Linked DNA regions of Homo sapiens: region 1 is linked to region 2. The links are contacts of gene promoters, found by promoter capture Hi-C in blood cells and fetal thymus (Javierre and others, 2016). All regions are on one chromosome and are shown on one strand. Each heading gives the region's core, a stretch centred on a gene start or on the middle of the fragment in contact. The rest is flanking DNA. Distances are from core to core; before and after follow the strand shown.

What was found. Contacts are between HindIII fragments. The CHiCAGO score rates a contact against its expected background, and 5 or more counts as called.
Region 1: a fragment that was not itself captured here is called in contact with the fragment with the promoter of SEPTIN9 in region 2 in 1 of 17 cell types (naive B cells); the score reaches 5.4 in naive B cells.

The regions. Positions count from the first base shown.
Region 1 is chr17:78,005,763-78,010,494 of GRCh38, reverse strand. The region is part of intron 3 of TNRC6C (trinucleotide repeat containing adaptor 6C); the gene reads right to left. Among named protein-coding and RNA genes, the nearest start is that of TNRC6C, 49 kb to the right of the region's middle. The HindIII fragment of the contact is 6,923 bases long and covers 1-4,732 here.
Region 2 is chr17:77,278,805-77,283,584 of GRCh38, reverse strand. It overlaps SEPTIN9 (septin 9), which reads right to left and starts at 2,086. Exons shown (of 12, transcript NM_001113491.2): 1 at 2,031-2,086. The coding sequence starts at 2,049. It overlaps SEPTIN9-DT (SEPTIN9 divergent transcript), which reads left to right and starts at 1,688. Exons shown (of 3, transcript NR_136503.1): 1 at 1,688-1,973. RefSeq lists a silencer at 1,592-1,755 and an enhancer at 3,357-4,004. The HindIII fragment of the contact is 6,769 bases long and covers 1-4,290 here.

The DNA.
Region 1 (4,732 bases), core at 1,078-3,577, 730 kb before region 2:
TATGTGTGACTATAAAATTGGGAAGATATGCTATAAACCTCAATTCTTACTACTTTTCATTCTGATTGATATTAAACTTTATATGTTTAGAATGAGCCTAAGCACACTGCCAATACTTTGTGACTCTAAAACCTCCATCACTCAACTGAAGACTACTGGAAGACTATGGCTTCAACTGACTTACATTATTAACAAAAGCACCTAGAGGTTTTGTTTACCAATTACAAACTGAACGCATGGTAAAGTTTAATACCTCACTGCAAAACTAAAATTATACTCTTTATAAACAAGATTAGGATACTAATTAAATGTACGAATTTGGGCTGAGCTGGTGGCTCAAGCCTGTAATCCCAGCACTTTGGGAGGCCAAAGTGGGTGGACTGCTTGAGTGTGAGACCAACCTGGGCAACAGGGCGAAACCCTGCCTGTATAAAAAAATACAAAAATTAGCCAGGCACTGTGGCATGCACCTGTAGTCAGCTACTTGGGAGGCTGAGGTTGGGGTATCACTTGAGCCTCGGAGGTGGTGGCTGCAGTGAGCTGTGTTCGTGCCACTACACTCCAGCCTGGGCAACAGAGTTAGACCCTCTCTCTCAAAAAAAGTATAAATTCAGATGTATATGACTTAAAAATCATAATTCAGGCCAGGGGCAGTGGCTCACGCCTGTAATCCCAGCACTTTGGGAGGCCGAAGTGGGCAGATCACGAGGTCAGGAGATTAAGACTATCCTGGCAAACATGGTGAAACCCTGTCTCTATGAAAAATACAAAAATTAGCTGGGCATGGTGGTGCGCACCTGTAGTCCCAGCTACTCTGGAGGCTGAGGCAGCAGAATTGCTTGAACCTGGGAGGCAGAGGTTCCAGTGAGCCGAGATTGCACCACTGCATTCCAGCCTGGGCAACAAGAGCAAAACTCCATCTCAAAAAAACAAAAACATAATTCATTAATGATATGGACCATGAACCATAATGGGTCATGAAGGTATTCACTTTCATACATGGTAAGATTAACTTTGAGCTTTTTGTATGAAAACATCTACTTTATGAAGTTAAACAAATCTGGCTAAAAGCACTGAATTAAATTTTCACATTTATGAAAATTATCATAGTTAATCATTAAAAAAACCCTCACTCAATCCATGAAAACACCCAGAAAACAATACTGAAAACTTAGGCTCCCAAGGTCATCATATCACAAATAAAGCTATTATTACCTGTGCCTCAATTAAGGGCAGTGCCAAAAATAAAGAAAACTGATTACTCATTATGGTCATAAAACCCATGCCAGTCTGAAGTGACACTTGGACCCCAGTTACTCCACAGAGAGCTACAATGCACAAGTTAATGGCAACAGGATTATATCTGATTCCCTTTTCCCCCAGTATAAGAGCATCTAGGGTCTCACTAAGGTAACAGGTAATTGTGTTCGGCTGTCTCTTTCTTTGGTCACCAACGCAAAGACGATATTCAGCAGAATTTACAAAGGGCTAGTTTATGAATAGGCTCCCACAGAGGTTTTCAAATTGCTTGGTGCAGCTCCTTGAAGGGATAGGGATCCAGGAGTGCTAACTGCGGGGGAGCAGTGGAGAGTCCATATAAATATATATTTATGTATATGAATTCATAGAGAGATGCATTCAAGGATGGCTAACTGTTAATGGGTAAATATCTCAGGACAGAGGAATTTCGAGTGAACTTTAATTTCTCTTTAGATAATCTCAAATTATTTTCAATCAGAATATATAACTTTTGTTTTTCATCACAGGAGGGAAAAATAAGAAAAAGTTGACTACAACAACAACCCAACACTCTGAGACAACTAAGGAAAAGGCCTCCAGGTTTAGAAACATGCCCAGACTCCTTAGGAGTGCAGGATGTCAACCCCACTGGAGGGTTTGCAGACTTAGAGGCATAGAGGAAAATCAAGGGGGAGTCAAGAGGAAGAAACTGATGAAAGCCAAAGTGAATCAACTATTTGAGTGAAAACCCCCGGGGCTGAATAAAAGTGTATCTCCTGGCTGCAGAGAAAACGTGGTTCCCATGATCACATCAGGGTAGGATGGGGGTATGAATGTTGGCAGCATAGTGTTTCACACAAACGTACTCACTTGGCCTGAATCTTAAAAAGAAAATGACCCAAAGATATCACAGGTCAGAATTTGAAAAGATAGCCAGGAACAAAATTTCTGTTCAGTGGTAATTTTACAAAGCAGACTTCCTAGAAATCTAATTTTCAAATTTGTTGGGGGAGGGTAGGAAAGCATGCTACATATTATATTAAGTTATTCAAAAAACATATATTTCCAGTTAGCTTCAGTTCGGCATTAGTCTTTTAAATAAGAATTCATAGTTCAAGTTTGATGGTTATAGCCAGATGCAAACATTTTTTTAAGTATAATTAATGCTATAATGGAGACTCATCTATTAAGAACGGATTAGACTAGTTAATATTCTCCAGGAGAAGGTAGAGGAGTATCATAGATGAGCATGTCATATATTCTAAAAAGTTCCTTGAAAATGTTTAAAACAAATCCAAATTTAAAGCATTTCTATTATTGAGAAAATTAAGTCAAATATAATGCTAAATAATTGGGGCATGGCTTTACGAATGCTACTAGTTGAGTGGTGTGTAATATTGCAGAGTAAGGGAATTTCTAATTGATTTGGTCTAGTTTGAGCTAATTATCAAAACCAAAATTATTCAAACTTCTACAATGTTGATTGATTCAGTATATTATGCAATCTAATTTATAACTGCAGCTTCTCTCTTAAGAGTATCCAACTCTCGGACTCTCTCAAATTGCTAAACACTTTCCTATATTCAAACAACTCAGGGCCTTGAGACTTCTGGGTGCTGCCTTGTGGCAAATGTGGCCCCTGCCCTCATAGACACACAATCTGGAGCAGGGGAGGGAAGTCAAAATGCTAGAATGTTAGGAAAGCATCAATTTTATGTGTGAACACTAATACTAGTACTATAACATGTATCATAGGTACAGTCAGGCCAACCTGTGTCACCCGACAAAAGTGTCCAGTCAGAAAGTTGGAACCAATATTTCTCAGGCAATGAATTTTGGTTTGAACCAGTAATAATGAAGAGTCTGAGAAAAACGTAAACCTTGATGCTGCTAATATTCATCAATGAATTACCTAGCAGTACTGTTAGATTATTTATAATTCAAAAAGCATTTTTTGTTTGGAAAGACATTAATTATTACTACAACCCATTCTAAGGCTAGTTAGTAGTTACTGATAAACTGTACCCAAAGGAACAGTATTTTAGAGGATATAGAAGGAGAAGAGAAAAATCCAGTAGAGTTTGGAGTTAGCAATGAAAATTCTCAACAGAGGCCAGGTGCGGTGGCTCACGCCTGTAATCCCAGCACTTTGGCAGGCCGAGGTGGGGGGGAATCATTTGAGGTCAGGAGTTCGAGACCAACCTGGCCAACATGGTGAAACCCTGTCTCTACTAAAAATACAAAAAATTAGCTGGGTGTGGCCATGCGTGCCTGTAACCCCAGCTTATGGGGTGGGGGTGGGGTGATGCTGAGGCAGGAGAACCACTTGAACCTGAGGGGTGGAGGTTGCAGTGAGCCGAGATCATGCCACTGTACTCCACCCAGCCTGGGCGATAGAGCAAGACTCCATCTCAAAAAAAAAAAAAATAAATAAATAAATAAATAAAAGAAAATTCTCATCAGAACAGTAATAGAAAATGATAGCTCTGCGTAAAGTGGTGGGACAATGTAATTCACAATCACTGTTCAGTAATAAGCAATTTGTTACTACTTGAGTAGAAAACAGTGACAATGATGAAGAATATAGCTGGTACTAAACCAGACAGAAAAATTCAAGAAGAAGGAAGAAGAAGAAAGAAGAAGAAGGAAGAAGGAGGAAGAAGGAAGAAGGAAGAAGAAGGAAGAAGGAAGAAGGAAGAAGAAGAAGAAGAAGAAGAAGAAGAAGAAGAAGAAGAAGAAGAAGAAGAAGAAGAAGAAGAAGAAAGAAGAAGAAGAAGAAGAAATGGATGATCCAGAACAGTTAACTCTGTATTTTGAAATGACAATAGTAAGAAACCATTGTTTTTCATTCAAGATCATAAATTCATACACAACTATGTACCATAAACCTTTTGGACCCTTCTGGAAAAGTGTTATGTAAATTCACAGTGCTTCTGAGAGTATAACAGAGAAAAATGTCCTTTTTGCTATGCTGCTTTTTAATATTCATTGAGCATTAACTCCCTCTCTTCATGTGACTCTAGTCTAGAGGTTCAGAGACCTGGACTCCCTCAAGTCTTGCCTTTACCATTAACTGGTTCTTAACCAAGAACCAGCCTCTTAATTCACACTAGGAGATTATCTGTAAACGAATTCCTTTCCTGTTCAGCTATGAAGTTCAAATGAGATAATACACATAACCTTAACTTTGAAAATTATAAAATGTCTCACAAAAGCATAGTATTAGCTGTGAGAGTGCATGTGTCTACATGTACAGTTGTGTACATGTGATGGTCCAGTGGAAAAAAACTTCAGAATAACAGTTATAGTAAACCTTTACTGAGCACCAATTATATGCTAGATACTGAGTCATTTTCCTGCATGATCTCAATTAGTCTTTTTTTTTTACATTTTATTTTGAATTGACAAATAATCGTATTAAGTCTTTGTAACAGCTTTATGAGGTAGGAACCATTCACTACCTTTCTCATTTTAAATATGAGATACTGAAGCC
Region 2 (4,780 bases), core at 837-3,336:
AGAGCCTTGGGGGATTTTTAACATCTTTTGCTGCTTTCCTTAATTTCATGGTGTCGATGGCTTGTTGGGGGGTCAGCCTGACTCCTGCGAGTGCCCGTACCCGGAAAAGGGCTGGTGCCAAGACAGCTCCAGGACACTCAGAATGAGGGCAAGAGGCCACCCCCACCATCAGCCCCCTCCAGTCCCACTCCATACAACTGCAACACAGTGACCCAGCACACCTTGGGCCACTGCCAAGCAGGGAGCAAACCAGAAATGGTCTGAGCCCTCCCTTCCCCCATCCTCAGAGGGGCCTGCCCCTTTAGGTAAACACAAGGAGGCACCGAGGCTGCTGTACAAGAGTTGGTTCCTGCTCACTCCACAAACTCTACTTCCACCTACTGCAAAAGGTTCTGTCCTTTTTTTTAAAAAAAAAAAAAAAAAAGAAACCCAGTGAGGGGTGGGGTAGGTGTGTGTGGAGGAGAGGAGAAAAGGACAAGTGATGGTCTCCCCACCTCCCAGTAAGCCGCAGGTGCAGAGACTCCAAGCCTGCCTCAGGGCCCTTCCGGCATCTGTGCAGGAGGGTCTCCGCAGAAAAAACCCAGGACCCACGACCTGGGAGGACCCCGGTCACCCCCACTGTCTGGACCCACCAGTGGGAGGTAAAGTGTAAGAAACCAAGGGCAAAGGGCCCTCCCTGGGCGGGCTAGAGATCCCCTGGAAAGGGCCATGCACCGCGCGATCCCCACAACAATCTCAAGTATTTGGAGCATGTTGGGGAGGAAGCCCCGGTGCCAAAACCAAGCATGTGCCACCTGGAAGCCCGCTCCCGCCCACCAGCACACCAACCCACCCACGCTCCTGACAGAGCTGTGCTCCGGGTGCGTAGAGGGCCATCTTGTTCGCAACAACCGGGTGAAAGTTGAAATTCTAAGCTACTGACCCAGAAGGGTATTTTCGGGGAAGTTCTGAGTAATCCTCTTTGAGACAAGGTACTTTATCACTCATTTTGGTTCCTAAATATGGAAAGCCAGAGGAAACCGACAATGGCCCAAAGGCAGGGGGATGGCCCCGATGACTCCTTCACCTCCAACTAAGGCCCATGATTCTGTTCTCCTATCAATAAAAATTAATTCATGGATCCTTGGCAGGTACCTTTCTATCTGAATGAATTAAAGGAGGGACATTAAACAAACGGTTTCTAGATTTAGAAGAGGAGACGCTATTTATAATTTGAGGACTGAGGAGGACAAAGGATCCTGCCTGCCTGGATCCTTTGGAGAAAACCACAAAGGAAAAAAAAAAGGAAGGAAAAGACAAATAATGAAGATCTGGATTTCTCTTAACCTGCCCTTGTGGCCTCGGTGTGCCCATCTGTGAAATGGAACTTCAGAGTGCCAGAGCGGGAGCCTCTTATGAAATGAAAGCTCCTGAACCGGCTCATGGTGAGGCCCAAGTCAGGCCCCCTTCGCCTACTTAAGGCGGGCCCTGCTAGGGTGGAGTGAGGATGTCAGCCGCGGGCGGCGTCCTGAGCGCAAAACGTGAACCCGAGTCGCCAAGTTTGGGCGCTGCTGGACGGTCCCATCTGGAGGCCGTCCCGTGCCCCACTAAGTAGAGGAGAAACCGAAGAGAATCCGAAGAAAGGATGCTGCGGCCTGGACCACCAGCCCTAGAGGCTGAACCCAAGGACACCCCTCCACCTAGCCCCGACCCCATTCACCCACACAGACGCACAGGGACCCAAAGCACCCGGCCGACCTGGAAAGTCAGCGATTCCTGCGAGGGTGCAAGGGGCGAGGAAGAGGGAGCGTCCCCCAGGGCAGCCCCTCCGACACTCGAGCAAGGGCTGGAGACAGCGCAGGGGACGGTCGGCTCAGGTCGAAAGCGGCCCGACAGCGGCCCTGTCCTGGGAGGAACTCGACCTGCAGTGTGCCCGCCGCGGGGACTCGCTCAGCTCCGGGGGCGCCTCGCCACTCCCGGCCGCAGGCACTCAGGTGAGCAGCGCTGGTCCCGGGACACCGACCCCTCCCCACCCCGGGCGCGAAGCCCACCTGAGTAAGACTTCTTCATGGTGCCTCCGTGGCCGCCGCTCCCAGGAAAGTGTGGCGGCGAGGCAGCGGGGCGCGCGCTCCCAGGGCGCTAATCCTGGGCCGGTAGTAGGAAGGCGGGAAGAGGGGGCGGCCCGCCGTCTGGAGTGCACCGACCGGGCCCCGCCCCGGCCCCGCCCCCGCCCCGCCCCTCCCCGGAGATGCGCATAGAACCCCGGCCCAGCCGGCTGTGGTCCCGCCCCTGACCCGCCCCCTCCCCGCCCCGTGAACGTGCGCGCCGAGCCCCACCCCCGCCCACCCCTGCGCTGCGCTGCACCTGGCGGAGCGGGGCTGGCGGGCGCCGGGCCTGGGAGGGGGCGCCCCCGCGCGGCAGCGCAGACCAGACCAGACCAGGCCAGGCCGGGGGTGGGGGCCGCCTGCGTGGCCCGCCGCGCCCGCAGCTCTGCACCCCCAGCTCCCCGCGCTGGCGCCAATGGCTGGTTCCGGGAGTCGCCGCACTTCCCAGTCCCGAGTCCGGGCGGGGCGGGCCCGGCCAGGTGGAAGCGGGCGGAGGTGCGGGCGCTCCGGGCGGCCCCGCCGGGCGAGGCGGCGGCGCCGGGCACCGCGGCGGCGCCGGGCACAGCCGGGGGTCGGAGCCGGGGTGCCGGCTTAGTGGGCCGGGGTAGGGCGGGACAGGACACCTGTCCTGCTACTTTTCTGGTAATCAAAAGGGCAGAGTGCGTCGATTGAGTTGGAGCCTTAGTTTCCTCACCTGTAAATGGGCGCGTTGGACAGATGATCATTTGTTCTCCCTGCGCTGGGCACCGTGCGCAGCTCGGTGTATCGGTGCAGCGGGGCAGACACAGGGAGCCGCCCTTTACAACTCGGGTAACGCAGGCAGTGGTGAGAGGATGCAAAACTTGCACGGAAGAATTCTCTCTACTTGGATATCCTTAAAGTCTCCACGATAAAGCGGTGTTTCCAACGTACAGAGGAAGAAGTGACTAATTATGACTGGAGGGTGGTGTCAGAGTTTTATTGAGGCGAAATCAAAACAGGGTTTTAAGGAATGAGCAGGAATTAGCCAGGCAGCCAAGGTGATGGAAGGCAGCTGTTCCCGAAAGAGGGAAGGGCGTGGCGGAGCCTGGGAGGCCTGAGGTATCACAGCGAGTGTGGAGAGACAGAGGCAGGGCCGGGCCCTTGCACAGCTGCCAATGGAGGCCGTAGAGGACGAGAGGAAGGCGGGAGGCCAGTTGGGAAGCGCTCGCTAGTTCTGGGTAGGGGCGCAGCATTGCCTTCTCCTGCAGCCCTCCCAAAAATGCACAGGAGGCTGAAAGTGTCACTAACAGCCCCGAAAAATCCTCCTCCTCTTCCCCTCTCCTTTACTCTCCTTGGGGGTCCAAGAAGCATTTTCATTTCCTGCCTGAGTGTGGGAAACTTATATGCATGAGAACGGAGGCCTATGTGGCACCGTGGGTTCGTTCCGGCCCACCTGCTTCCTTTCTTGAGTAATCTGTCCAGCCACAGCCCTGCAGAGGGAGCAGCCCAGCCAGAGGAGTTTCCCCTCACCCCAGGTAGAGCTGATTGGACCGGAGTGGACACTGGACTTCAACTGAGTCCACCCCTTTCCTTATCTGGGGGTTAGAGGCTCAGGAGGCCTCGGGAGGGAAGTGCTGTAAGGGAGGGGAGCAGGGAGTATGGACGAATTGTGAACAGCGTCCTGGATTCTGGGATGTCCACACCCTAACCGCAACCCCCACCCACACGCCCACTCACCGCTTGTACCAGCACCAGCAGATTCCGGCTTAGGCCGTGTCCTGACTTGGCCAGCAAGCACCATGATGACACTGCCCCCAGCCTAGCCATGATGACACTGCCACGAGCCTAATGCCTGGGATTCCCAAAGTCCAGCGGTGTCTCAAGAATCTGGGTTATGGGTGCATTGCTGGCTTTGTCCATTTTACTCAGCACAAGTCAGAGGTGCCCTGGAGCACAGTCACCCTGAGGATGCCAGCCCTGGCTGTTCCCTGGCTTTGGGTAGGTGGGTTCCTCTGCGGATGCTCACGCTTCTGCCTGGGGTCACAATTCACAGGAACCTGGGCACCCAGGACCCAAGGACACCTGCGTGGAGTGATGTTGGACACATCACATGGGTGCCTCCTGTGTGATGGTTCCTGGATATCCGAATTTTCCTTCCGATTCCAAGAAATCAGAAAGAAGGACAAGAGAGAGGGAGGGAAGGCTGGGAATGAGGGTTCTACACATTTTTGAGATGCATGAAGCTTAATCTGTCATGAAATTAGAGTTAAAAAAAAAAAAGAAAAATTAAAGAGATGCACGAAGCTTAATTGTTTAAGCCTCAAATTTTGTTTTTATTTATTTATTTTTATTTTTTATTTTTTGAGAGGGAGTTTTGCCCTCGTCGCCGAGGCTGGAGTGCAATGGTGCGATCTCAGCTCACTGCAACCTCTGCCTCCCAGGTTCAAGTGATTCTCCAGCCTCAGCCTCTTGAGTAGCTGAGATTACAGGTGCCCGCCACACCTGGCTAATTTTTTTTTTTTTGTAATTTTTTTCTTTTTTAGTAGAGACAGGGTTTCACCATGTTGGCCAGGCTGGTCTCAAACTCCTAACCTGAGGTGATCCCCCCGCCTCAGCCTCCCAAAGTGCTGGGATTACAGGTGTGAGCCACCGCACCTGGTTTATTTATTTATTTATGAGACAGAGTCTCCCTCTGTCACCCAGGCTAGAGTGCAGTGGCATGATCTCAGCTCACT